5 separate regions of the Homo sapiens genome follow, and regions 2, 3, 4 and 5 are each linked to region 1. The links are contacts of gene promoters, found by promoter capture Hi-C in blood cells and fetal thymus (Javierre and others, 2016). All regions are on one chromosome and are shown on one strand. Each heading gives the region's core, a stretch centred on a gene start or on the middle of the fragment in contact. The rest is flanking DNA. Distances are from core to core; before and after follow the strand shown. Region 1 holds the start of PLAC8L1 (PLAC8 like 1). Region 2 holds the start of TCERG1 (transcription elongation regulator 1). Region 3 has its middle 21 kb from the start of TCERG1. Region 4 has its middle 53 kb from the start of POU4F3. Region 5 overlaps PRELID2 (PRELI domain containing 2).

The links. Contacts are between HindIII fragments. The CHiCAGO score rates a contact against its expected background, and 5 or more counts as called.
Region 2: the fragment with the promoter of TCERG1 here is called in contact with the fragment with the promoter of PLAC8L1 in region 1 in 5 of 17 cell types (activated CD4 T cells, non-activated CD4 T cells, total CD4 T cells and 2 more); the score reaches 7.7 in activated CD4 T cells.
Region 3: a fragment that was not itself captured here is called in contact with the fragment with the promoter of PLAC8L1 in region 1 in 3 of 17 cell types (activated CD4 T cells, total B cells and non-activated CD4 T cells); the score reaches 6.6 in activated CD4 T cells.
Region 4: a contact is called between a fragment that was not itself captured here and the fragment with the promoter of PLAC8L1 in region 1, in 1 of 17 cell types (non-activated CD4 T cells). The highest score is 5.4, in non-activated CD4 T cells.
Region 5: a fragment that was not itself captured here is called in contact with the fragment with the promoter of PLAC8L1 in region 1 in 1 of 17 cell types (erythroblasts); the score reaches 5.4 in erythroblasts.

The regions. Positions count from the first base shown.
Region 1 is chr5:146,102,695-146,108,258 of GRCh38, reverse strand. PLAC8L1 (PLAC8 like 1) reads left to right here and starts at 2,682. Exons shown (of 4, transcript NM_001029869.3): 1 at 2,682-4,066. The coding sequence starts at 3,948. RefSeq lists a silencer at 4,387-4,587. The HindIII fragment of the contact is 7,482 bases long and covers 1-5,564 here.
Region 2 is chr5:146,445,044-146,450,607 of GRCh38, reverse strand. TCERG1 (transcription elongation regulator 1) reads right to left here and starts at 3,275. Exons shown (of 23, transcript NM_001382548.1): 1 at 3,200-3,275. The coding sequence starts at 3,258. RefSeq lists a silencer at 2,907-2,986 and an enhancer at 2,905-3,612. The HindIII fragment of the contact is 4,342 bases long and covers 1,690-5,564 here.
Region 3 is chr5:146,424,020-146,429,583 of GRCh38, reverse strand. No RefSeq gene overlaps it. Among named protein-coding and RNA genes, the nearest start is that of TCERG1, 21 kb to the left of the region's middle. The HindIII fragment of the contact is 4,299 bases long and covers 574-4,872 here.
Region 4 is chr5:146,389,335-146,394,898 of GRCh38, reverse strand. No RefSeq gene overlaps it. Among named protein-coding and RNA genes, the nearest start is that of POU4F3, 53 kb to the right of the region's middle. RefSeq lists an enhancer at 1-37. The HindIII fragment of the contact is 974 bases long and covers 2,810-3,783 here.
Region 5 is chr5:145,821,869-145,827,432 of GRCh38, reverse strand. It overlaps PRELID2 (PRELI domain containing 2), which reads left to right. Exons shown (of 7, transcript NM_205846.3): 2 at 4,299-4,356. Among named protein-coding and RNA genes, the nearest start is that of PRELID2, 11 kb to the left of the region's middle. The HindIII fragment of the contact is 4,641 bases long and covers 620-5,260 here.

The sequences.
Region 1 (5,564 bases), core at 1,433-3,932:
GCAATTCTTTGTGTCCTTAGAACATATTTCTCTAAGGGATATAGTCAGAGCACTATTTAAATATTTCCTGAATTCTTTTTTGTATGTGGTTGCTTGCTTTTTTTTTTTTTTTTTTTGATGACAGAGTCTCACTCTGTGGTCCAGGCTAGAGTGTAGTGATGCAATCAGAGCTCACTGCAGCCTTGATCTCCCGGGCTTAAGTGATCCTCCTGCCTCAGCTTCCCAAGTAGCTGGAACTGCAGGCATGCACCACCATGCCTGGCTGGTTTTTTTCTTTAATCAAGAAATGTTTCTTGGATTCTTTCTTGTATGTGCTTTTAATATAAAATTAAAGCCATTCATTTCTCTTTATATTCAGTTTTATGGTTTGCTTTTTCTTTTTATCTGATTTTTGAATAAGTAAAAATACATGATTCAGCCAGATGTGGTGGCTTGTGCTTGTAATCCCAGCCCCTTGGGAGGCTGGAGTGGGAGAGTTCAAGACCAGCCTGGGCAATATAGTGAGACCCTGTCTCTAAAAAAAAAATTTTTTTTTTCAAATTAGCCAGTTGTAGTGGTTCATACCTGTAGTCCCAGTTACTTGGGAGGCTGAGGCAGGTGGATCACTTGAGTCTAGGAGTTCAAGACTGCAGTGAGCTGTGATCATGCTCTTTAAAAAGAAAAAAATCTGCCAGGTGTGGTGGCTCACGCCTGTAATCCCAGCACTTTTGGAGGCCAAGGCAGGTGGATCACAAGGTCAGGAGATCAAGACCATCCTGGCTAACATGGTGAAACCCCATCTCTACTAAAAATACAAAAGAAATTAGCCGGGCGTGGTGGCGGGTGTCTATAGTCCCAGCTACTCGGGAGGCTGAGGCAGGAGAATGGTGTGAACCCGGGAGGCGGAGCTTGCAGTGAGCCGAGATCGCACCACTGCACTCCAGCCTGGGCGACAGAGCGAGACTCCATCACAAAAAAAAAAAAAAAAAAAAGAAAAAATCTTTTTTTCTCTTCCTTTTTCTTCCCTCCTTCCTCTTTTGCCCCTCTTCTTTCCTTGCTCATGTAATACTATTGTAAAGGTGTACCTTAGTTTATTCAACCAGTCTCCATGGATGGACATATAGGTTGTTTCTAAGTTTTTAATATTTTATAGAATGTGTATGGAATGATATAGTGAGTAACCTCATGAATAATGTCATTTCACTTTTGTGGAGGTATATCTTCAGAGTAAATTTGTAGAAGTGGGCTTGTGGGTCTGAGGGTAAATGCATATGTAGTTTTGTTAGCACGTATGTGGTCAAAAGCATTTTTTGCCCTGAGGCAGGGGCATGTAGCTGGTGTGCTGAAGGAATAGCAAGGAAGCCACATGAAGAAACAGGTCAAAGTCACTGGCTCAAGATCCTATGTATTAGCAGCAGAGTTGAATTAGAGCCCTGGCCTCCATCTTCATTGCACTTAGACAACAAAGAATTCGTGCATGGAAAACAGGAATGTATTTGACCAAGGCCAGTGTTACCAGGGCCATTAGGAGGTCAGAGAAAGGAGAAGTTTATATGGACCCCAGTCAGGTAGAAAATACTTCACCCCAAAATTTACAGCATCAATAAGATTTGTAATGGCCCTCTGCTGTGCATAGAGCTTGTATTAGTGTGTTTTCTTTTCTTTTTCTTTTTTTTTTTTTTGAGACAGAATCTTGCTCTGTCATCTAGACTGGAGTGCAGTCGAATGATCTTGGCTCACTGCAACCTCTGCCTTCCAGGTTCAAGCGATCCTCTTGCCTCAGCCTCCTGAGTAGCTGGGATTACAGTGCCTGCCACCACGCCTGGCTAATTTTTGTATTTTTAAGTAGAGATGGGGTTTCACCACGTTGGCCAGGCTGGTCTGAAACTCCTGACCTCAGATGATCTGCCCGTCTCAGCCTCCCAAAGTGCTGGGATTACAGGTGTGAGCCACTGCATCTGGCCTAGTGTGTTTTTATACTGCTATAAAAAACTACCTGAGACTGGGTAATTTATTTAAAAAAGAGTTTTAATTGACTCAGTTCCACAGGCTATACAGGAGGCATGGCTGGGGAGGCCTCAGGAACCTACAATCATGGAGGAAGGGTGAAGGGTAATGTTAAAGATACATTTTGATCACTTCTAGGACCTTCTGATGTAAAGGCATATTTGTTAAAATCACACCCAGAGCTTTTATTGTAAGGGTACTTTTTTTTTCTTACACTTTCAGAACTTTCCAATGTAAATATGCATTTTGAGTACTTCTGGAATTTTTCATAGTTAAGGTACATTTTCTCTTTTGCAATTAGAAATATGTGGAATAGTTATATTTTTGCACCTTGAGAATATTTGGTTCCTAATCTTTTTTATCTAATGGTTTTAATGCTTCTGAATTTCCTTCCTGATATGTTGTTATGCTGGGGCTATGCAAAATGGTGATATTCTAATGCTATTATTTCTTTTTCATAAATATTTGGCATTCTTTTATAAAGCACATGCCTTTTCTATTCTTTTCATTTTATTTTTAAATGAAAAAGCTGTGTAGCATGTGGATTAGTCACTTCATACAATAGACGTTTGATTAGAAAAGTTGGGCGCAAATGAAATGTAAAAATATGGAGTCATAGCTTATATGTACCATGGTGGTTTACTCTTCAAAGGAATCTTACTGTAAATCTTTTTTTTTTTTTTTTTTTTTTTTTGCAAAGCTAGTAATCACCTCTTAATTTCTGTTATTCTTATAAACCTGAATTTTCATGTAGGGCACATTTATTCAACAAATTATTGAGTGCTTTTTATGTGCCAGACACTGTGGTCAGCACTTGGAATAGAGTAGTAAGCAGAAAAAACATACCTGTCCTTAATGTAGGGTACATCCTTACTGTTAAGAAGACAATGACAGTTGCCCAGAACCCCATGATTGAAGGCAGTTATGAAGCTATGTCTGAGGAATCTTGATTTGGAAGGTATTATAGGCTTTTCCTAACAACCTGGTTCAATAAATGCTTTGAAGTTCAGAACCCTAAGCAACCATTCTCTATGGGTCTGATGAAAAGAATATATGATATAATTGGCAGTATCCTCCTGATGTCTTTCTAATGTAATGTCAAATTATGATTGCAGAGCCCTTTCCTCAACGTGAAATTTTGCCTAATTTTTTGTCTTAGGATATTTCCTAATATTTCTAGGGTCCACACCTCCATAAGACATGTGCCAGAGGCATGATTCAGAGGCTCCTGAGACCTTGAGGATTCAGAGCTGTTGTGAGGACATCACCAGGCAAGCCTTGCTTCAGTTACTAGATTCCGTCTGGACTGGGTAGGAAAGAAATGCCACTTTCCTGGCATTATCAATGAAGTTAATGGAAGAGCAGAGAATTTCTAGAAGTTCTGAAAAGGCTTTGAGGCTTGTGACAATCTACCATAGCTCAAACTTGAGGAGACCACCTTTCATAAGATGGATTCAAATACAATACCTGCGCTGAAAGACTTTTTTTTGCTCCTGCTTTTGGGTTGGCTATGGGACTTGCATCATCTGGCTGAATTGGACCAGCAGTTCAGGGGATGAAGAGAGGTCTCTGCTGCTTCTCAGTCACATGGCATGGCAGAAATTTTCAGCCTTCTGAATCTTCCAAGGAACGGTCAAGTGGCACTTAGCTAGATAAATGTTTACTAGAGGCATCTCTTAAAGAGTTTTCCACCAAAGATAAGTCTTTTTCTTCTATTTACTCTATACTCCAGCAATATCTCCCTACAGATTAGTAAGATGAATGTGTCCACAGTTAGGTGTATACCTGTTTTTAAAGAAAAAAGATGTCTGTTAGTTACACTGCTATGACCTCAGGTTCCAGAATATTAAGGGAACATTCTTTCAAGAGATGTTTCACTTTGGACTAATCCGAAGTTTAGAAACCAGCTTATTGCCAAAGGGAAAAAGGATAGCCCAAAGGACAAGAAAACACTTCTCACTATGAATTGGTTTGGAAGTAACTTCTTCAGGTGTCCTGAGGATCTTTCCTTACTCAACATATACTCACCTCTGTTGTCACACATGTCATCTGAAGATGAACATTTTATTTCCAACTTGAGGTAGGGAATAGGGTGAGTTTTTCCCCTAGCTTTTGCTCTTTAGTTGGACTATCGAATCAACCTCTACTTATAAGGAACCAGGGAAAAGAAAACTGGGCTTGGGAAGAAAGTGGTTGCTATCTTTTCTCCATGCAAACTTGAAAAGAGGGCAACTGATTTGTTCCTTCTGGCCTTTCTTGGCTGGTGACAAGAAAAGGGCTGGCTTGGGTGAAATGGTATCTCTTTATTCTTAAAATGTTGAACCCTGACCAAGTGGAACTTTATTTTTAGAGACTGCCAATCATTTCCACCCTTTTGAAATGAAAACTCAAGGGTTTTGGCTTCAGCTGAGTTTGAAATAATCAAGGAGGCCTAGGTACAAGGCAGAATGATTTCACAATACTCCAAGTGTGATTACGGAAGAGTGACATGTAACACCCCAGGCTGAAGAACCAGGCATGTGGGAGACATGGTAGGGCTTGTGCTAGAAGAGGAAGAGGAATGGAGTGAGGTCAAAAAGAGGGAAAAGTATGTATCTCATCCATCAAACTTTAACAGGAGTTAGCCTCCTGCCTCCTGAGTTAAAGCCTCCCTCACCTTCTGAGGGTTAGGATCACCAACCATCTTGGTTTGCCTGGAACTGTACTGGTTTTAGCACTAAAACTTCCCTATCCTGGGAAAACCCTTGGTCCTGGGCCAACTGGAATGGTTGGTTACCCTGACTGAATCTTTTTTTTTTAAGAGATGGGGTCTGAGGCCAGGCGCAGTGGCTCATACCTGTAATCTTAGCACTTTGGGAGGCTGAGGTGGGCAGATCACCTGAAGTCAGGAATTCGAGACCAGCCTAGCCAACATGGTGAAACCCTGTCTTTACTAAAAATACAGAATTAGCTGGGCGTGGTGGTGCATGCCTGTAATCCCAGCTATTAGGGGGGCTGAGGCAGGAGAATTGGTTGAACCCTGGAGGCAGAGATTGCAGTGAACCAAGATCACACTACTGCACTCCAGCCTGGGCGACAAAAGCAAAACTCTGTCTCAAAAAAAGAAAGAAGAGATGGGAGTCTTGCTCATGGATTTAAGCAATCCTGTCACCTCAGTCTCCCTTGTGGCTGGGATTATAGGTGTGCATCACCGTGCCTGGCCATCACTCTGACTGAATTTTAAGGCATTTGGGTAGCACATATGACAACTGAAAACCTGGTCCAGTTCTCCTTTCTCCTTCCTTTGTTTCTGAGAAAAGTATACAGAATGCCCTAGAGCATACACAGGATCCTGAAGTTAGAATAATAACAGTGGCCATCGACTTCATGCATACTACGTGTCAGGTACATACATGATCTTGTTTAATACTCTGGCAACTGAGGAGCTAGGATATTTTAAATCCAATTTTATGGAGGAGGAGGCCAGAGCTGAGGGTTGTGACAAGTTGTATTTTCTAAGATGTCACAACTAGAATGTGACTATTTGAACTTTTTTGTGTCTGAAATGAAAATGTTTGCTTTTTCTACTAAATGAAGAA
Region 2 (5,564 bases), core at 2,026-4,525, 340 kb before region 1:
AATGAGCTAATAAAGTACTTGGAATAGTGCTTAGTATGTAAGTGCTATCTAAGTTATTAGCTATCATTACTGTTTCTGTAACATTAGGACAGTAATAGTACTGGTAAGTGTTAAATAATATTAATATTAGTAATGTTAGCTATTATTACTATAATTATTATATCAGGCCCTGTATAACCTGGCCCACATTAACCTTTCCACAAATTCTAGTCTTTTCCTTTAAATATTTCAAGTTTATTACTTTGAAGCCTCTGCACCTGTTCTCTTTGCCGAGCATGTTCTTCCCCAGATTTTCACATAACTAGCTCCTTCTCATTACTCAGCCTCTAGTTCAAATGTCACCTCAAACTGTTTTCCCACTTCTGGCCTCTACAGGCCCTCTCAGGATCATTATTCCTAATTTGAGTTTTCGATTATGATAAATGCTATGAAGAAATCTCCCATTTACTTCTGTATTATCTTTAGCCACTAGTATATAGTTCCCTTTAGTATACTGTTGCAACACATTAAAACACATTATTGTTTTAATAATGATAGTAAAGTTCCTATATACCAGCATGGTTATACAGACATTATCCGTATTAACTCTTAATCCTCACTACAGCCCAATAAGGTAAGTTTGACACCATTTTTACAGAGGAAATGATAGCACAGAAAAATATTTTCTTAAGGCAGCTAGTCAGTGATAACACCAGAATATTCTTATTCTCATTTTATAGATAAGGAAATTTAGATTGCAAGTATCTTAAGTATTGATAGGTAAACAAAGGCTCTAGGGAAAGGATCTATACAAATGACTCTGGAAGTTACTTTAATGGTATTTGGAACGTCTATAAATTTTCCATCTATTGTGATTTGCATTCCTACCACTTACAACCTTTCTGAAAAACAAAAGCCTACTTGCATGAATAGAAGGAACAAAAATATTTCACAAGAACATCATGGAAATACAAACATAAGGTATTTTTCTACAATAGAAGTTCTCTATCCAGATATGCAATCTCCCCAATGCTAAAGACAATACTTTAACTGGAGGGGCAAGAAATAAAAAGATGCTACCGATATATGGGGGCAAATTGTATAAACTATGATTGAGGAGACCTGAGGTTTAGTCCAGACCCTGCCAACTACCCAGTGACCTTGTGTAAGTCACTTCACACTTACAGGCAGATTTAATCATTTGATGTGGTTGATTTCATTTACAATTTAGATGGCTCTTACTTAAGCTGGAAGCTCCTGCAGGACAAACCTCTTTTTTCGGTCTGGTTCAGGGCACTATTACCAGCACCTAGGTCAGCAACTGTCATGTAGCACACAATAAATGTCGGCCCAATAAGTGAAGTATCTTTAAATCTCCTATCTTCATTTATTTACAACATAACTACAGAACATCTCATTTGCCAGGCGGTTATGACAGACACACCATGAAGTACATTCAGGTTACAAATATAATGCAAAAATTAAGCCCCAACTTCTGCCATCAAAGAGGCCACATACACACCTAATTTCATGAGAAATGCTAAAATAAAGATCTGTACAGTATGCTCTGCAAGCAACTTCCAATCCAAGAGGCTACGGTATAAAATATTTGCAACAGGGCAAATTCATTTGCAAATTAAAGCTCTATTCAAATCAGTTGTGCAACAGTGTCTAGACTATTAATAAAGCCATTTGGATTTTTTTAAAGCTTTAGAAAGATACTTTCTAAAATGCAAAAGAATGTTCCCTAATAAATCCATCTGAAACTAGCTAAGTAACCTCCCTTTAAGATCGAAATCAGGAATAAACTTGGCATCGCTAATATTTAAAGATGCTGACAATTCACCTTGATCACTCATTAATACTGTATACATATGGAGTTTAAAGGATTTCAGATTCATCTCTGAAATAAAACAAAATTTCATTTCTGCCAAAGTGGAGATTTGTGTGTGCGACCATACAGAATCTGAAAGGCATTTTCCTCTTCTAAAACCTTGAATAACAATACCCATTTCCTTACACAATTTCATCTTAAGTTCAAGACAGTATCAACAGAGTCTTCATAATCTACCCTGCTCTTTTTCATTTTCAAACGTTGACAACAGCACAATTCAGAATGGGAGCTGAACATCTGAAATGCCATTTCTCCCATACAGAAAAAAACCAAAGTACCAAATACACATAAAGCATAATACCTCTTTTCCTCAAAAACCACTGACCAAAAGATTTCTCCAGGTCACTCTCATTTTACCAAATTTTAATTACAAACTCATAGACACTGAGGTTCCAGGGGAAAAAAAGGTCACTGCACTGTTCAAGGAAATGGCATGAGTAGTAGACGAATAGAACGCCAATTGGGATTGCAGGCTCTGAAACCTGACTGCCTGAGTTCAAGCCACTTCCTGGAGCCACAAATCCGCCTATGCAATCTTATTCTACTGACTCAACCTCCACGAGGCTGTTATCTCACCTGTAAGATGGGCGAGTAACAACTGAAGACCCCTCTGGTCTGTGGCCTGCAAAATGTTAATAGCAACTACTCCAAAGGGTGGTTGTGAGGATTAAATGAGACAAACCTAAGTAAAGGGTTTACTGGCACACGGTAAGTGCCTAATAAGGGGTTGCTACTGTTGTTGTTACTCACAACTACAGGATAATAAGGAATAAAGGGATGAAAAAAGGAAGAAAAGCCACAGAAGTTAAGAAAGGCAAGCAATGAGGGGGATGAAATGAAAGGGCAAACGTGGGGAGCCCAAAGAGCCGCGGAGGGCGTGGAGAAGGCTTAGCCAGAAGTGGCGAGGGGTACAGGGAAAGTAACTGCGGAGTGCAGAGACGTCGATGAGGAAAATCAGGCCCGCAGCGGAGCGCGGCCTGGGGACAGACTCAGGTCGGCCGAGACGGAGGCGACACGCGGCTGAGGCGGGGCCCAAAGGCGGGAGCACCGCGCCCGGCCAGAGGGCTGCAGGCCGCGAGAGGCGGCGAGGCCCCAAGAAAGCACTAGGAAGCAGCCAGGGAACGCGCAGGAGGCCCTGGCCCAGCCCGGGCCCGGCTCTCATTCAAGCCACCTTCCCCTTCCCCCTTCTTAAACCCCATGCGGTCCCGGCCCGGGCCGCCCGGCTCCGCTACCCACCGTCCGCCCCGGATCTCCACATGGCAGGTCTAGCGTCTAGCCTCTGGGGCTCTCGTGAGCAGAGATGTGAAGGAGGGCAGCGTTCCTTACCTGAGCTCCCCCGGGTTGAATCGTTCACTCTCGCCCCCGTCCCCGCCACGCTCCGCCATTACAGAGGGCCGCGTTCATCCACCCGCCGACCCGACGTCTCCTATTGGCTAGAAAAATCGTCAATCCCCAACGAGAGAGGCGGAGACAGCAGAAGTCTGAGATGCGGTTGGTCAAACTTTCCATCAATCTTCGAAATGGGGGCGATATGTTCTTTGCTATTGGGCAAGGCGCCCGCCGACTTTGAAAGCGGTATGAAGACAGCCAGTTGATTGGTGACTCGGGGGCTTTATGGGAAATGAGATTTTAGCAGTGAGGAACCGCCGGCGCCCTCTCGCGGTAAGCAGAACTAAGTCCTCCCAAGTTCGGCTCAGCCTGCGGTAGCCACGTGTCTGTCGGCTTCCAGGAGAGCCAATTGTGGAGCCATATTGGCCAGTAGTAGCTCAGGCGGAGAGCATTTCCACTGGGCAAGCCAATCAAAATCGACCTGGGCCGCGCCTAAACCGATTGCACAGTTGCTGTGGAAAGCCGCTATTTCCTAGCTTTACAGTAGCAGGAGTCTTAAGTCACCACTCAGCTCTATATCCATGTTATTAAATAATATATTATTAATTACAAGAATACCTCCCAAATTATACTAAACCGTTGCAAGCCAATAGGTGTTATAAGTTGCTGCATTAAGAAAGGTAAATTGGCGAAGGCAAGCCTCTTTGCAATTTACAGCTTAACCACGTCTCCCTCGATCTCAAAATGTGCTTGTCTGAAATTAGCACACCCAGAATACCAGACAATTCTGAATATTTATTTAGTTTTTCTAATTAACAAAAAAAAAAGTTTTGGATTTGGGGTTTCAAAGGCACAATGAAGATGAGCCCTTTTATTAAAGTCGTAAAAATATTAAAATAATACTAATAGATAAATTTTACTTGGACCTAACCATGTAGCAAACCCGGATCTAAGTATGTCAGGTACGTTAACTCTTTTAAGATTCAAAAATTGCTAGGAGGTGGGTAACATAGTCACTGTTTGTAGATGAGCTTGAGGCACAGAGAAGTTAAGTAACTTGCCCAAGGTCACACATCTACTAAATAGCAGAGCCTGGTCTTAACCCCAGTCAGCGTAGTAGCAAAGCAGCACTCTTAAATACTGTAAGCCTAAATAATTGGATCCACATAAAAACATGTGCACAAATGTTCACAGCAGCAATATTCATAATAGCCAAAAAGTATTGTAACAACCCAATGACCATCAGCTGATGCATGGTTAAGAAGCATGGTATAGGCCGGGCGCGGTGGCCCAAACCTGTAATCCCAGCACTTTGGGAGGCCTAGACGGGCGGATCACGAGGTCAGGAGATCAAGACCATCCTGGCTCACACGGTGAAACCCTGTCTCTACTAAAAACAAATAGCCCGGCGTGGTGGCGGGCGCCTGTAGTCCCAGCTACTCGGGAGGCTGTGGCAGGAGAATGGCGTGAACCCCGGAGGCAGAGCTTGCAGTGAGCAGAGATCGCGCCACTGCACTCCAGCCTGGGCAACAGAGCGAGACTCCGTCTCAAAAAAAAAAGAAACATGGTATAACTGTACAATGAAATATTGTTCAGACATAAAAAGCCACATACAAAAAGGCCGCCTGTTGTATGATTCCATTTACATGAAATATGATGAAATTGCATTGCATTTCAGGCAAATACATACAGACAGAAAGTAGAACAGTGGTTTCCAGGAGGTAGAGGGGAATGAGGAATTGGAAGTGACTGCTGATGGATATGGAATGTCTTTTTGGATGATAAAAATGTTCTGGAATTGGCGCTGATGGTTGCACAACTTTGTGAATATACTAAAACCCATTGAATTCTATACTATTTATTTATTTATTTACTTATTTTGAGAGGGAGTGTCACTCTGTCACCCAGGCTGGAGTGCAGTGGCATGATATCAGCTCACTGCAACCTCCGCCTCCCAGGCTCAAGCGATCCTCACACTTCAGCCTCCCAAGTAGCTCCCACAGGCCTCCGCCACCACATCCAGCTAATTTTTTATATTTTTGGTAAAGACGGGGTTTTGCCATGTTGGCCAGGCTGGTCTTGAACTCCTGAGCTGAAGTGATCTGCCCACCTTGGCCTCCCAAAGTGCTGGGATTACAGGTGTGAGCCACTGCATACAGCCAACTCGTATACTTTAAAAGGTGAATTTTATTGTATGTGAATTATATTTTAATTCAAAAACACCATTCTACACTGAATTCCAGTTAAATATTCAAAATCAATTAAATATGATAAATTGTGATAAAGGCTTCACACAGTTCTGAGCATGAGTAATTGGAGGAGAGCATGGTGAAAATTTTGTTAAAGATGTGACATTTGAGGC
Region 3 (5,564 bases), core at 1,474-3,973, 320 kb before region 1:
GCATGCAATCAGCCTTCAATATTGATATTGGCCACAATTATTTACTATTGTTTTACTTTTTAAGTGTGGATGTGCTCTCAGAAGAAGTTACTCACCTAGCTGCCTGTCCTAGATGTGTAACTTCTTCTGGATGGGGTCTTCATATCATGTTTCTTTGCCCCCAGCCTGGTTTCCAGAATCCCAGCACAATGTCATGTTTATTATAGGATACCAGCGATTTTTAGCTGAATGTTGACTGGACATGAAAGAGAGAGAAAAAAAATAAAGGGAGAGAAAGAAAGAGGTTGGGGGGTCAGGGCTGTGAGACATATGGGGTGCATCAAAGGATTGCTAGACAGATGGTAAGCAGGGGAGCAGCTCAAGGCAGAGAGAACACCTGGGCTATGTACTAATTAGCTGACAGGTGGGTCAAGGATTGGAAAAAGTAGGAAACAGTATGTTGTTTATTCCCCGGAATCAGAGGCTGCCTGAGGCCAGGTTCACTAATGCCCCTACTCCTCCTGGCTAAGTTCTACAAGTTCAGAATACATTCCACTTCACCTTGAAGAAGCCCTGGGCCACGGGACGGAAGCTTTGCTGACAGGTTTCATAACTGGGCCTTTCACTTAAGGTTCTGAGCCACTTTGGCCTCAGCCAGCACTGCACTTCCTCCAGTCATATCTTCCCCGAAACTAAAATACAGCTTGGAAAGACAGTCTGGTGCCCTCACCGTCGCTGTGGCTTCCTCAAGCCATGACATGCTCTTTTATGAGCCTGCGGGGCTGTAATTCTCATCACCTGACATTTATGGGAGGCTTCGTATTAGCAAACGGCTTTATGGCCATTTTTATGAGGGATGCCTCTCTGAACCCTGTCAGGTGTAATCACCCAGACTAGGCAGGAGGAGAGAGCATGGTGGGCAGGCAAATGGCCCTGGCCCACTGGCCAGCAAAGAGCCAGGGATGGAGCCTGCAGGTGCCACTGCTCTTCAAACGTGTGTCATAGCTGATTTTCTTGTCCTCACAGCCTTGGCAGCTCTCTCCGTGTCACTGTCCTCCACATCCAACCCACCAGAGGGTCCTGAAGGTGAGACCACCAAAGCCACCTCATATCCATTCATTTCTGTCCATCTTCCCAGCTTGACTCCCACACAGCACCACCTGGCTCTGTCTCCTCCTCTTGCCCCGCTGCCCTACTGTCCATCATCCACACAGAAGACAAAATAATCCTCTAGATGATTTTTGTTTTGTTTTGAGATGGAGTCTCGCTCTGTCAGTCAGCTTGGAGTGCAGTGGTGCGATCTTGGCTCACTGCAACCTCCGCCTCCGAGGTGCAAGCAATCTTCGTGTTTCAGCCTCTGGATCAACTGAGACTACAGGTGCGTGGCACCACGCTCAGCTAGTTTTTGTATTTTTAGTAAAGACAGGGTTTCACCATGTTGTCCGGGCAGGTCTTGAACTCCTGACCCCAAGTGATCCACGCACCTCGGCCTCCCAAAATGCTGGGATTACAGGCGTGAGCCACTGCGCCCGGCTTCTCTAGATGTTAATATAGTTATTTAATGTATGCACTTTTTAAACTTTCTGATATTTCTGGGAAAAAAAAATCTTTATTGATACCCTGTAGCGAGTATGTACTATTAAAAAAAATAGTCCTTGAAAGACAAAAATAGCAAATGCTCAATAGCTTCCTCTTCTGAATAAAATGTATCCCAAACAAAATCCCAGCTCCTGGGCAAAATACTGGGACCCTCTGTGAACTGGTACTTGCCCACTTCTCTGGCCTCTCCACACAGCCCTCTGCTCCTGCACGGAGTTCAAGGACCCAGGGAGCACTTTTCTGTCTCTGGAGTTTACACCCACTTCTCTCTCTGCATGAAAAGCTCTTGGCCTCTCCTGGCACAGCTGGCGTTGTCACAACCTTCCATTCTTAAATTGCCTGCCATCCCCCTGTACCCCGTCTCCCCCACCCACACATCTCCACATTAGCCTGTTAACGTTCAGAGCACTTTCAACAACCTTAAAATGTTTCCTGTTTGTTGACATACAAAATTGGTTTCCTTTGGCAGATTGTAAGTTTCATGAGAACAAGCACCTGCTCTGTAATTTTTGCTACTGTACTCAATGCTTTGCACATCACCTGCACCAAGTATAAGCTGAGTAAATAGGTGTTGAAAAAGTAAATGAAAAAATGGAATGGTAATTGAAAAACCTCTCTCCTCTCAAACCACACGTTAGTCTTCATTTTCATCAGTAGAGGGCAGCAAAGACTTTGCATTATCTAACTTTTCTGGCGTTTCTGCCAGAAAACTTATTCTCCTTTGCCCAGTAGTAGACTCTGGTTGTCAGGAGTTTTAGGAAAATACTCAGCCTTACAAACTCTTCCCTCTCCTTATTTCTGGAGTTGTCTTCACTCTGAATTATTTACAGGTGTTTTTGTTTTTCTAAGATTTCAGGCTGACAATGTTCCTTAAGAAATGAAAGCACATGTATCTACTAAACCAAAAAAGAAACCCCAGTGGCCTGGAGCCTGTACCTGCCTGCCCGACGAATTACTGGGGGGAAAGATGCTTATATCATATCCTACAGCTGTTTAGGACTTAAGGCTCGGCAGCTCTCCCTTATGGTGTGTAGGAGGGGCAGGTACCAGAGAAGCAGCTGCTACTTGTGTTGTGAGCACTTGCAAGAGCAAGTTGTGCGTGGGTTTATGGTTCTGTCTTCTATTTGCATCTGTTTCTGCTTATTCCATCTTCTGTTCTACACACCCCTACCTTCCACTCCCCAAGGCAAGAATTTCACCATTCCCTGCCTTTGTGCGCTCCCATGGTGGCTTCACCCAGAGTACACCCTGAACCTGGGTAATCAGAAGTAGAATCAGTGTCCACCCTGTTTTAGAATGGTATTTTCACTCACCTTCTGTCCAGCAAATATTTAAGAGTCCTCCTACATATTAGGCATGGGTTTGTGCTCTGTGAATACCGATGCTCCATTTGGTGGAAAGGCCCATTACAGGATCAAAAGGGGAGCATGATTTCTCAACCTCAGTACTATTGAGATTTTGGACAAAGTAATTTTCTGTCATAGGAGCATTCTAGGATGTTTCGCAACACCCCGGCCTCTACCCATTAGATGGAAGTAGCATCCACCCCCCAAGCTGTAATAACCAAAAATGCCTCCAGACATTGCCAAAAGTGGGGGTGGGGAGGAATTCCTACCCCCAACCTTGAGAACCAGTACTTTAAGGGGATCATAGTGGATGCCGTTGGGATATCTTTGCGGCCTTACATCAGTGACCCCTTTCTCCTAATACTCCTCCTCCTTACCCACTATTTATCTGTTGTGACCTGAAGCCCATGGACTTGACAGATTGGACATCTGACCCAACTTAGGCTTCTCAGCTTCTCTCCTCTGGGAATTTGAAAGTAGGACCGAGGGACTGTCTACCACATGGGCTCTCAGCAGCGTCAAAACTTTAATGAGAATTCAGGAGATGTGGGTGGATGTATGATAATAACATTGGAGACCAGATGCGAAGATATTTGCTTATCTACTGCAGAGATAAGAATAAAATGCTCAGTAGAGAAACACAGAGACAAGAGTCAAAGAGAAGCCACCTGGTGCTAGCACTTTCTAAGGCCTGGCTACACTTCCTACAATTCTTGCCTTAGATAGTAAGACATTCCTGAACATTTTAAACTAATTCCTCTTTGATGCCAGGGCAGTATTTTGTTCTGTTACTGGCCAATAAGGAGTTCTGACTAGTCCATTCTATGTGGCCTGGAACTGAAATCTTAACCAGAAAACATCAGGGATCCAGGCAGCTGGGGGAGCCATTTCTAACCCTAAGGGCAGCTTCACTGACTCAGACCATGTGCTCTATTTCACTTTCCCTACCAAATGGCTTTCTCACCCTCTATCACTACAGGGATAGAGATGGTGTTTTCTTTTGTCTTAACCTTGGCTTATCCATGGCTCATGTCCTCAACTTCTTGTCCATTCACCATCAGCTGGACTGCTAACAGCACACACAAGTTGCGTTTCTAGGCTTAGTTTCCTGAGCGGGGGGAGTCTGGTTGGCTCCTGTGGCCAACACCGCTGGCTGCCCACTCAGCAACCACCCTCCTCATCAGGTTTGTTCAGGTGAACAACCTCAGGTGGTGAATACATCATTGGTTTGTAAGAGCGCTGAGAGGTAAGGGAACTTTTGCGGGGCTGGGGGGCGGATTATGGGAAAGAGTGTTATCCCTGATACGAGACGGGGAGGCCTGAGAGGGAGCTGGCCCACCCGCTTCCTGCCTGCTTTGGATGTCACATGAGGACATGATGCATGACGCGGTTGTACCTATCATGCACCCATGAGGCAAAGCCAAGAGAACGACAGAGAAACTGACAGAAGAGGGCGTCAACATCCTTGAGCTGACAAACTGACCAGCCCTCGAGCCACTTACCTTCAGACTTCTTGTTACATGAGGTATCCTTAAGGTTTAAGCTACTTTGACTCGGGTGTCCTGTTACTTGAAGCCAAGAGGATCCTGACCAATATAGAATAGCTCATCTTTTCAGGCCATGTGGCTTAGGTCCTAGGTCTCTAGCTGTGAATCTGTAGGTTGACTGCCTTGGGGCCAGGCATCCACCGGCAGCCCACATGTTTATGCCTCCCTAACTCCCAACCTTTTATTTTGAAAATGTTTAAACCTACAGAAAAGTTTAAAAAGAAAATACAATGAACTCTCAAATATCCTTCACCTGCAATCACCCATTGTTAACATTTCACTACTCTTGTTTATTGTACATAACTCCATATACGTATATGGGTGTTTTTCATAGACAGATAGATAGATAGTGGGGTTTGGGGGCTGAAAATTGGAAAGTACATTAAAAACTTTATGAAGCTTCACTCCATAGTACTTTGGCATTTACCTCCAAAGAAACAAGGACATTTTCCTGTATAACCAAATTGTCAATCTAATAGATTCAACATTGAGGTATTATCTAATATTTTAAAAGTCTTATTAAATATATATAGCTTTTCCCCCAGTACCACCCTTTGAAGCTTTACTTGTTTTGTTTTGTCTTAGTTTTGCCTTTGTTTTTGTTTTTATCCGGGATTCATCAAGAATCACATGCTGTTTTAGCTGTCACGTCTCTATAGTCTATTTTAGAACAGTTCTCTTGACATTTGCGGGGAAATGGGGAGAGGGCCTTCAGGTCAGTTCTTTTATAGAATGTCCCACAATTTGGATTATCTGGATATTTCTTCAGAATTAGATTTAGTTAAAGACTTTTAGCAAAAACTTCTACAGAAGTGATGTTGGGTCCCTCTCAGTGTTCATAACAAGAGGCATATGATATCACTGTGCCCTGTTATAGGTGATGCTAAATTTAATCCTCTGATTAAGGTGTTGCCTGCTAGAATTCTTCACTGTAAAGGTATATTTCCCCACTTTATAATTAATAAGTAATCTCTGGGATGGTACATGGAGGATATGAAAATATCTTGTTCCTCCACAACTTTTACCATGTTCTAGCATTCATTAATAAACTTTGACTGAATCAATTATAATGTTGGTGATTGCAAAAATCACA
Region 4 (5,564 bases), core at 2,047-4,546, 290 kb before region 1:
AAGAAATCTTCTTCAAAAACCCTCTGAGTGCCAACTCCTGGCTCTTTTACACCCTTGAGATAGGTGGGGGATTTCTCAGTACCTACTTTGAAAATGTTTGTATTTTGTTCCAGCACCTCCCTTTAGAAGGTACCTCTGCCAAATTTTCCCTTTTAATGTCTTATTACACTTAGAACTCAGAGAATGAGCTAATGACTCATCCTCCCTGGTGGTGGATGGGAAGGCGCCCTTAAACAGCCATTACGAGACCTTGATTCTTGTCCTAACCTCAGCCCAGTTTCTCCAGGTGACCTTGGGGCAGCCCTTTCATTGCTGTGGGTCTCTGCTTCTCCTCTCAGTGAAATGGAAATCAAATCTCTGTTCTTGCCCTCTCTCCAGGGAGGTATTGTGAGGAATAATAAGGCAATGCCTATAAAGTGCTTTAAGTACTTCGGGGAAAGACGTTGGCTAAATACCAAATGATAATAATAACACCGTCATCATCATTCACATTATTATTCATGGGTTGAGAGGAGAAAGCGGTTGCTGATGGTGTCTTTGCTCTGTGGGAAGGAGGACTTCAGGCCCCAGGATGTTCTATCAATAAGTCAAAGCCAATAAATACCGAGCACTGGAAGTGGAAGTTATCTAGCCATAAAGGCTGAATGTACATGCCCATTTGTATTTGAAATGACAACAACCGATTCTATTTCTCATTTTTTATTTTTATAGCTAGTGCTCAGAGCAGCTAGAAATGAGGGGAAATTGCGTTTCTTTTCAGGAGGATGGGGGAGCAAAGGGCTCTTTTATATATATATAAGATTTTACTACCCACCACTCTCTTCTTAGAATGCTTTTTTTTTTTCTACTCCTCCCAAATCCTCACCTCTATTATCCATTCCACTTATTTCTGAGTCAAAGTTCTAATCAGCAGACAGGTTTTGTCAGTGGTAGAAGATGAGCAGAGAGGATCAAAAGTGAGCCATAGGGAGAACCAGACTCAGAGCTTAGAGAAGAGAAGGAAGATGCTCCCTCTCCTAAACCTCTGATCCAAACTCATTTGTTCATCAAAAAAGAGAGTCACAATGCTTCAAGCACTGTGCTAGGCACCAGAGCTAGGTTGGTGAACAAGAAACAGACCCTGCCAGAATTTCAGCCCCTTAAAATCCTGCAAAATCAACTTTGGTGGCCAGGTAAGATGGCACCATTCAGTGAACAGCAAGGCCTTTATCTGGCAATGTCACTCTCAGGGGTGATAATGTAGTATTACCTTGAGATGCATCAGCCCTGAATGAGTCCCAAGTTTACATTTCTGGTTCTAGAGAAAAGTTTTTTCACCACCACCCGAATGAGCAGTGTATGGTCAGGAATCCACAAGATCGTTCCCCAATGCATACACATCTTAAAGCATGTGGCAGTAAACGCTGTAGACTTCAAGAAGACAAGGTTTCCATTCAAATGCACTGCTTTCCTCTTAAATTTCTCTGACACCCAGTTTCTTTATCTGCAAGTTGAGACTAAAAAGAGTGGCTCCATATACTTTCCAGACGTGCTGTGGGTGTGAAAGGAAATGATGAAAGCAAGGGTAGCTGTGAAGTTCTACTCAGATGGAAGTTGGGAGCTGTGGCAGAACTGCTGCTCACGTTGTGCCAGGTACCTTTTTGGATGAACAAGCCCCTGGAACTGTATCTGGAGATTTAAGCACTCAGCCAAGCTGCCTGGGCAATGGTGGACTTGCTACGTTCTGTTCCAGGAGCCTGTGGGTACTGAGGGAATAGGAACTCAGCTTTGTTATCTTTTTTATTTTCAAATTTTATACAAACCGTATTTTTTTCTCGTTCTAAAAGTAATATATAGGATCTTTGTAAACAAAAAGTTCAGACAATAAAGATATAAGAAGAGATTTTAAATATTACAGAGTATTGCCTTCCAAACTTCTTGGTGTGCATTCACACACATATTTTTTCCCCCAAAAGATGGGACCTTTATTGTTTTACAATCTGCCTTTTTGACTTAAGAATGTGTCCTGGCCAGCTTGCCACCTGACTTATTTAAAAGGCTCTCTGACCAGGTCTGGAGCTCTCTTCTTGAGACATAGCATCCCCTTTGAGCTCTTTCAGCATCCTTTAAGGTCTCTTTGATGGGGTTCAGTCACTCCCAGTGGCTACAAAAAATGAGAAACTTCCCCCAGCTCAAAGAAATCCAAATCGGGTATATTTACAAGCCCCACTTGCTAGGTTCTGAGACATTGACATCTTGTCATTTTTCCCCCACTTTTTCAAATTTCAAGTTGCAGTTTGATGTTGAATTAAAAATGTTGCCAGGGGCTGCCTGCAGGGCCCTCAGGCTAAAACAGTGGCAGCATCTGCCAGGGGAGACCCACAGGTCCTTCTTCAGACCATGGCAACGTACAGCTGGCATCTGAGCCCAGCAAAGGAGGGGAGAAACATGCATGTGAAAGGAAATTCAACGATCACTACTTTTTTTTTTTTAAGCCGACATCGTCAAGTCTTACCCATTTTATTTGGATTTTATGACTTAATGCCCATGGGGCATTTTGTGATCAGATTTTTGCAAAAGGGTGAAGAGATTGCAGCAACTTGCAAGAGAAAGGTCAGACCTTGTTAAACAATGCAATTGAGAATGAAAATAGGGGCTCCACGTACTTTCCAGAGGTTAAATGCCAGTCCTCATCTTAGGACCCTGGATGAATCACATGAAGGGGACAAGCATGGAGTTTATCAACAAATTTCTTTCATGCATTTGGGGTGTTTGCTGAGAAGTTCAGATGAGAAAATGCATGTGGACATGCTCTGGAAACAGGGAAGCTTTCTACAGATGAAGCCCTGAAGTCCTCTATATGCTTCTTTAAGCACTGGCCTGCGAGGACTCATGTGGAACTGGAGACAAGAATTGCCTCTAGAAAGAGGAGCTGGGTTGCTGGGAGGCAGCAGAGGAGGGGACACTTATTCTTCACTCTAGATCATTTCCTTTCTTCTGCATTTTGTACCATGTATCTGATGTACCTTTCAGCATAAAAAACAATGAATCAACAAATAAGTACTTTAGCTTAAAGGACTCTTGGGCCCTGGAAACATTCTTTAGGAAAAATACTCTTTGGCAGTGACAGCCTTTCCTTATGTGTGAAATCATGCTAAAGTCCACTAAGTCTTTTCACTGAACAGCACTAATGGCTTCATTCTTTCCTATAGAGTACTTTTTGTTTAAAAATAAAAAAGAGCATTCAAATCAAAGAACCAGCAAAAGTCTTCCATTATTATTGTCTTTATAATAATGTGCTATGTATTTTCTGACCGTGGAAAAGAAGTGATAGCCTCAGATGGCATACGTGGCTATTAATTAATGAGACTGGCTTCTGCACAAGTCTTGTGATTGTCACTATATTACTTATGCTATACCTGTTATATATGAGTAATATTATATATATTATATACTCATTACTATGTCATTCTAGCTCATTCTCAATCCTAGCTGTGCTGCCTTGGACATTTACTAGCTGTGCTCCCTTGAACAAATTACTTAACCTTTCTGAGCCTTCGTTTCTTCATATGTAGAACGGGTGCTAACAGTAGGAACTGCCCCAAAAGGTTGTTATGAGTTAAATGATACTGCCTAGGGCCTGACACAGTAAGTGTTCAACAAACACCATTCTTATTATTAATGTTATTTTTATTACAACTATCTTTGGAGATAAACAAATGTTGAAACCTCAAACTGATCCATAGGTGTGTTGGGGAAGAACAATGGCTGTAAAACAGAAAGGAAGCAGTGTGAAAGAAAGCTTATTGTCTCAAGGTCTACAAATCTTATTGAGCAAATCCACACAATTCTCATAAGCAATACCTTGCTAGGTGGCATGCCTCTCAGAGTGTCTTTATCCTGATTTTATTTTACTACCCTTCCCATCATATCTTTCTCCCCTACATGTTGTCTTTCACAAAACAATAATAGAGAGAGCCATTGTATCCTACGAATGCCTGAGATTTAGCCTTTCACTTCTTTAGATTGAGAGCTGCTCCTGGTGATGACTGTGGTAAGTGATGAATGCTGGGGGAATACATGAAGAATAAAGGTACCTAAAAATTGCTCATTCTTTTTTCATTCCTTCAACAAATAATTATTGAATGTCTGCTAGTGGCAGACACTCTTTTAGAAAAGTTGTTCTCAACTGGGGACTATTTGCGCCCCCCAGGGGACATGGGGCAATGTCTGGAGACAGTTTTGGTTGTCACAACTAGGAGGCGGTGTGCTACTGGCAGCTAGTGGTTAGAGGTCATGGATGCTGCTAAACATCCTACAATGCACAGAACAGCCTCCTATGTCAAAGAGTTATGCAGCCCAGAGGTCAGTAGTGTCAAAGATGAGAAATCCTATTCATTCTAGAGGCTTGGGAAAATTATATCTGAAAGCAAAATTCCCTGCTTTTGTAGAATATAAATCCACAAACAGTCAGAAAATAGACTGTAAAAAGGATAAGTAAATTAGAAAGTGATGTTTTGTTTTTTTAAAAACACAAAGGTAAGCAGGGTAAAAAGTATGAGTGCTGGGCCTGGGGAATGTTATAGAGGATGTTCAGAAGGGGAGGGGGTGAGATTTGAGCACAGATTTAAGGGAAGTGACAGAGATAGGCAAATAGATGCCTGTGGGAAGAGCATTCCAGGCAGAAGGAAGAGCCACAGCAAAGATCCTAAGGCACAGTGGCCTGGCATGTTCACATAACATCAGGGAAGCCAGTGTCTTGAATGCCATGAGCAGGGAAGAGGAGTAGAAGATGAAGTCAGAGAGTGGGCAAGAATCCAGTCCACGCAGGGCCTTGTGGGCCACTGCAAAGACTTCAGTGTTTACCCTGAGGGAATGGTTCTGAGCAATGATTTTGAGACATACTCTGACTTCTATTAGCTGCTCTGTTGAGAACAGAACAAAGAGGGGCAAGGGTAGAAGCAAGGGAACCTATTTGTTAGGTGGCTATTGTAAGAAATGACAATATCCTGGATTAGGGTGGTAACCGTGGAGGTGTAAGAAGTGGGCAGATATATTTTGAAGACAGAGCTAACAGGATTTGCTGATGAATTGGAGTGAAGAATAACACTACGGGTTTTGGCCTCAGCAACTAGAAGGATGGAATTACAATACAGTGAGATGGGAAAGGATGGCTGGGCTAGGGCAGGTTTAGTGAGGATGACTGGGAGTTCAGCCTTGGACCCATTAAGTCTCAAGTGTCTATTAGACACCCAAATGGAGATGTTGAATCAGCAGTTGGATATATAAGTCTTAAATTCAGGAGGGAGATGAAGACTGGAAATGAAGATGTGTGAGTCAACAGAATTGAGATGGGGCATGATGAGATGACCAATAAAGTGTGTGTAGATGGAGAAGAGGTGCAGGGACTGAGCCCAGGACACTGCAGTTAAGAGCTTGGAGAGAAGAGGAGGAACCAGAGAAGGAGACTGTGAAGGATTAAGCAGTGAGACAGAAGAAAATAAAGAGAATGTGTTATCCTGAAAACAAAATGAAAAAGTTTACCAAAGAGAAAGGAGGCATCCATTGGTCAAATGCTGCTTATG
Region 5 (5,564 bases), core at 1,691-4,190, 280 kb after region 1:
TCATCATCCTATTGAAAGACCAATGAACAGCCATTCCAAATACTTTTCAACTTAAGTACGTTTTGTCCTTGATCATTGAAATTTTGATTAATTTATAACTCGTTTCGTCTTGGTATAAAATCAACTTTGCTTTTCTTCTGAGATAGACTATGGTGTGGAGCTCATAAAAGGAATTTGGCATAGCTCATGGTGATTTCTTTCTGCTGCTAAACACCAAATCTCTTTTCAGCAGCCCCATCTCTTTGCATGTACATGTTTGGCAGCAGCCTAGATAACAGATTCCCTTAATGCTTATAACACGGGTATGTTAATATACCAGACTTACTGTAGGTCTTCTTTGCCTTCTTTGAAGGACTCTTCAGACAGATCTGTCAGTCACCTGCTTCCTTGTACTCTCTCTGGTAACCTCATTTGTAAATTGGTAGACAGTGACTCCTTTGGATGTCACTGACTGTTTCTGAGAGGGGAAGCAAATGTTATTAAAAAAAGGCATTGGCTTTTGAGCTTTTTGGAAAGTTCATATTTTAATAACTCTTTTAAGAGTAGGCTTTCTGAAAGCTTATGGGTTTTTTTTTCCCTCGGCAAATATGAATGCAAAATGTTATATCTTCATGAAGCTTCTCCCAGAAACATATTGAATATTCTGTAATTAGATGGATTCAGTTTCTTGCCTCTAACTTTTTATATATATGTGTTTGCTTTAATGCATATTCCCCCCCAATATTATGGAGTTCTTGGCTTATCTTTTAATATGTAAAAACTAAAGCAAGCAGATACAACAGCTTTAGGCACGTCTACATTTTACCCTTGTTAGACTGTTACATACATATGATATATACAGTGGTATTTGTAGTAGTTTCATGTCTTCGGGAAAGGAAAAGGAGTTAGTTTACACGTTCTGTGAAGAAATTAAAAATTATAAGGAAATGCAAAATGAAGTCAAATATACCTTTAAAAATCCCTTAAATCATCCATAAAGTAGTATAGCATACATGGCATATGTATGCAGCCTGTGGGATCGTTCTCTTGCACACTGCAGTTTGTGATCAGCTAAGCCAGGATCAAGAAAGACAAGGGCTTTTGGCAGATATCTGGGTCTTCAGATCACATTGCTTTCATGAGAGTCTCTAGTATGAAATGGGGATTGAAGAATCCCATGTGAACCTGCTTGTCTGCGGGCTTTACACTATTATATTTATAGCAGAAATACTCTGTATATTAATACTTGATAGGTTTCCACGCTTTGAGAAGGACTGAATGAGATCATGCGCATGGCAGCTTCTCTAGGATAGCACCCTGCGTGAACACAGTAGCTGCTCAGTTAAGTCTTTGATGGGTGTGATCCTGATTCAGCTTGATCAATTCTGCAGTCATACTGGATTGTGTTTGAAAAGGTGTCCAGAAAAACCTGGCCATCTGCCTCCTGTCTTCCCAGGTAAGTGTTCCTGGTATTGACCTCTGAGAAGCCTTCCCTCTTTCAACTTTTTCTCATGGGAGTTTTGGTAAATTTTCATGAATTAAAACATGAATATTCAGGTTACCACAAGATGGCGTCAGATCATTTCAAGTAATGCCAGGTAGGGGGAGCCTCAGTTCAATAAATCTTTAAAGAGGTTGAAATATGTGCCTTTCATAGTATGGTAGTTAGCTATTGCAAATAAACCCCTACTTTCTTCTACTGTTCTTCTATGGAAACTTGAGGCTCTTGGCTGTTCAACTCCAAAAATTATGTAAGTGTGAAGTATTTGAGTTTATAATGTTTAAGAATTTCTCTGATAGCTTAGTGAAGTAATCAGAACTTGAAAAATTTGATCATCATGTCTCCCTGGTGTTTACATTTTCAACGTCTTTTATAGTTTAGTTATCTTTCTACAACTTATGTTGAATTTGTAATATTCAGTCAATATATATTTATGGGTATGTAATGAACAAACTAGAACTGTAGTAAACGAGATAAGCACATTTTACTTTAGTGTACAAGTTATAATTTATACACATATAATCACAATTCAGAGGACCTGTGTGAGTCTCAAATATCTCCCTTGCTTTAGGGGTACTGTGTAAGCGAAAGTCTCCTTTCCTGAGGAGCAGAGTATCTAAACCTGACCCTCTGTCATGGGCATGTAACTCGGAAGGGCTGAACTTCAAGAAAGCAATCACTGTAGTTCCAAGTTTTTTTTTTTTTTTTTTTTTTTTTTTTTTTTTTTGAGACAGAGTCTCACTCTATCACCGAGGCTGGAGTGCAGTGGCATGATCTCGGCTCACTGCAACCTCCGCCTCCCAGGTTCAAGCAATTCTCCTGCCTCAGCATCCTGAGTAGCTGGGACTACAGGCATGCACCACCACATCTGGCTAATTTTTGTATTTTTAGTAGAGACAGGGTTTCACTATTTTGGGCAGGCTGGTCTCAAACTCCTAACCTCAAGTGATCCACCCGCCTCAGCCTCCCAAAGTGCTGGGATTACAGGCATGAACCTCCATGCCCAGCCAAGCATTTTTTTTTCTAGGGCTAAAATGAGTGAATGAATGAATATATAAATAAATAGATTTTTAAAAACCAAGTTTTTCATCAGTTATCAAGATTTCAGTTTCCAGGATGGAAGTGTGAATGACAGAGTTTACCAACATGAAACATGAAGAGATATTGAGGTTGCTGAAAGCTGAGCCACTGCTCTCTTCATAGATTGGTTTCTGACTGAAGGCAGGCTCATTTTCCAAATTGATCCCTGAGGTCATTGAGGTTTATATTCCCAATTTTTTATTTATCCAGAAAATATTGACTGAGTGCTTTTTATGTGCCAGGCATTACGCTGGCTGTTGGAGATACAGGAGTAACTGAAATAGACAGTATTCCTGCCCTCAGAGAGCCTGTGTTCTAATCTAGTGTCTTTTTGGGTCACAGATATCTTTAAGAATGTGTTAAAATGATGAACCCCTTTCCCTGAAAAATCCATTAATAAATCAATATCACACACACACACACACACACACACACACACACACACACGCCTGCTGTGGGTGGAGACCCACAGTCAGAGTTTTGTATTTCACTTCCTAGGGTTCGGAAAACTTAAAGCTCAAGTTTGCAAAGTGAGGGGCCTTTCTTCTTTCTCCCCTCAGCCTGCCTGCTGCTTTTGCCTTCTGCTCAGCACTTTGTGATGTCATGGATAAGACTTCCTGCCAATTTTCTTTTCAGATTTGATCACATGATACGTCGGTAAACCTCAGGGAAGAGAGTCCAAGGGGGCTCAGTAGGCTTTGGTCAGCAGCTACCTTGTCCTGTGGCTTCTAGGAGGTCACTTCTGCTCCCAGTGTCTCTCTTTTCACATCTGAGTAGTGGAAAGGATTGTGTTAATTTAACTCTTAGGTGATTTGGTGGTAGGTTAGGTGGGCAGGCTTTGCAGGCTGGCAGAAAGTATCGGGGGTAAATTATGTTACCCCCCAGATACACTATTCATTAGCTGGACAATTTGAGCAAATTATCTAATTTGTCTAAGCCTTATTTTTCATATATGAAGTGGAAAAAATAACACATACCTTATAGAATGGTTTTGTGAATTAACTGAGCTAATGTATCTAAAGTATTTAAATTGCCTACGACAAAAGCAGTGGCTATTATCAACCTTGTCACAGCCAAATTGCTTTTCAGGGGAATTAAATTAACATGTTAAATATTTATTGAGTATTTACTATGTGCCTAGCAAAGCATACTTCTATGACTATGCTACTGTGATGCTAACCCAGCCACCAGACAATGATATTAGACCACAGTGAAGAGGTCCACTCTGTATTAAACAGGCCTGGTTTAATTCCCTGGCTCCACCAGGAGCCAGCTGGGTGACCCTAAGCAATCCAGTCTTCATTCAGTTTCCGTATCTGAAAGATGGGGATGGTGGTATCACATAAATCAGTTATAACAGAGAGGCTGTTGGATTTAGACAAGATTGTGCAAGGAAAGCATTTAGTACAGTGCCTAGCACAAAGAACACTCTTGATTTATGTTAGGCTGGTTCAATATTAATAGTATTATTATTTACTGATTAGCTTAACCTCATCCCCCTCAGGGCTAGTTGGATCTAAAGAAGGTTTTCCCCAGATTTCATGTAAGTCAAGATGATGATAGCATCTCACTTATCTAGGCCCAAGTTATAAAATTAAGATCCATGATTCAAAACTGGGCTTTGTTTAGAAGTTTCTTGGAAAATATTTACTAGTCCTGCAGACAGCTGTGGTTACTTCTAAATAGTTCACCTTGGTAGAAGATTAATGGTAATTCTTTTTTATATATTTTTGTTTAGTACCCCAACCCCATGGATAAAAATGTCATCTCAGTAAAAATCATGGAGGAAAAAAGAGGTAAGTTCTCTGTACAGTTTTTTCAGTAATGATCATTAAATGATAGTGATTTTTGTAAAGATGTGTGTACGTGTGTGTGTGGCCTATTAGGTTTTTTTTAAAAAATTGTTCACCTGCAGTTTCTTCCATTATTAGTTTTTAAACAGGTATATTTCTGTACTTGAGGTGACTTAGAAAGGTGTGGCAGGTAGAGCACCAGGATTTGTGATAGTAAAAGGCCTGCTGATGCTTTTTGTCACTTTCTAACTAATAATTGATGACAACACTGAGCTATATATAATTGTAACTGCTAACATTTTTGAGCACTTAATATGTGGCAGGTACTCTTATTAATTCATTTAATATTCAGAACAATGTTTGGAATAGGTGTTAGACTACTCATTTAATGAATGGAGAAACTGGGATACAGAGAAGTTAAGTGACTTGCTCAAGGTCACATGGCTGTAGCCTATTATATCATTTTGTAGATGGCAAAATGCATATGATTAAATACGAGATATGACTATAAAGTGATGGCTTATGGAATCACAACTACTAGGCAGTGTGGTTTAGCATTGACTAAATCAGGAGTTGACAAGCTATGGCTTGTGCTGCCTGTTTTAGTAAATAAAGTTTGACTGGAACATAGTCACATTTGTTTACATGTCATCTACGACTGCTTCCTCACTACAACAGCAGAGTTGACCAGTTGCCACAGAGACTTTATTGCCCACAAAACTTAAATTATTTAGCACCTGATTCTTTGCAGAAAATGTTTACTGATTCCTGGTCTAGAGCATAGGAATCTCTTCTGTTCTGTGTTATCCCCATCTCCAGCAAAAACCATTATTAGTGTCAGTGTTTAAACTTGAGAACTGGGCAATGCAGGAAGCTGTGACAATGCACATAGTCAATGTACAAAGCTTTGGGGACACTGGGGCCTAGGTCCAGCATGCTCTTTACCCTTCTTAGGAATCATGAGATGCTACTGTTCATTGTGTGTGACTCTGAAGCCCTCTCTGTGCTTGGTAAACATAACTGCCTTTTGCTTGTATATGCATTTTCTGTAATTCTATAACCATATAGATATATTAAAAATATTTTCTCATGTACCTGCAGTGTGAGAGAAACTTATTATTTGTCATCAGACAAACTGGATTTCAAATCTTGATTTCATTACTACCTTGGTGACCCAACTTTTTGGAGCCTCAGTTTCTTCATCTGTCAAA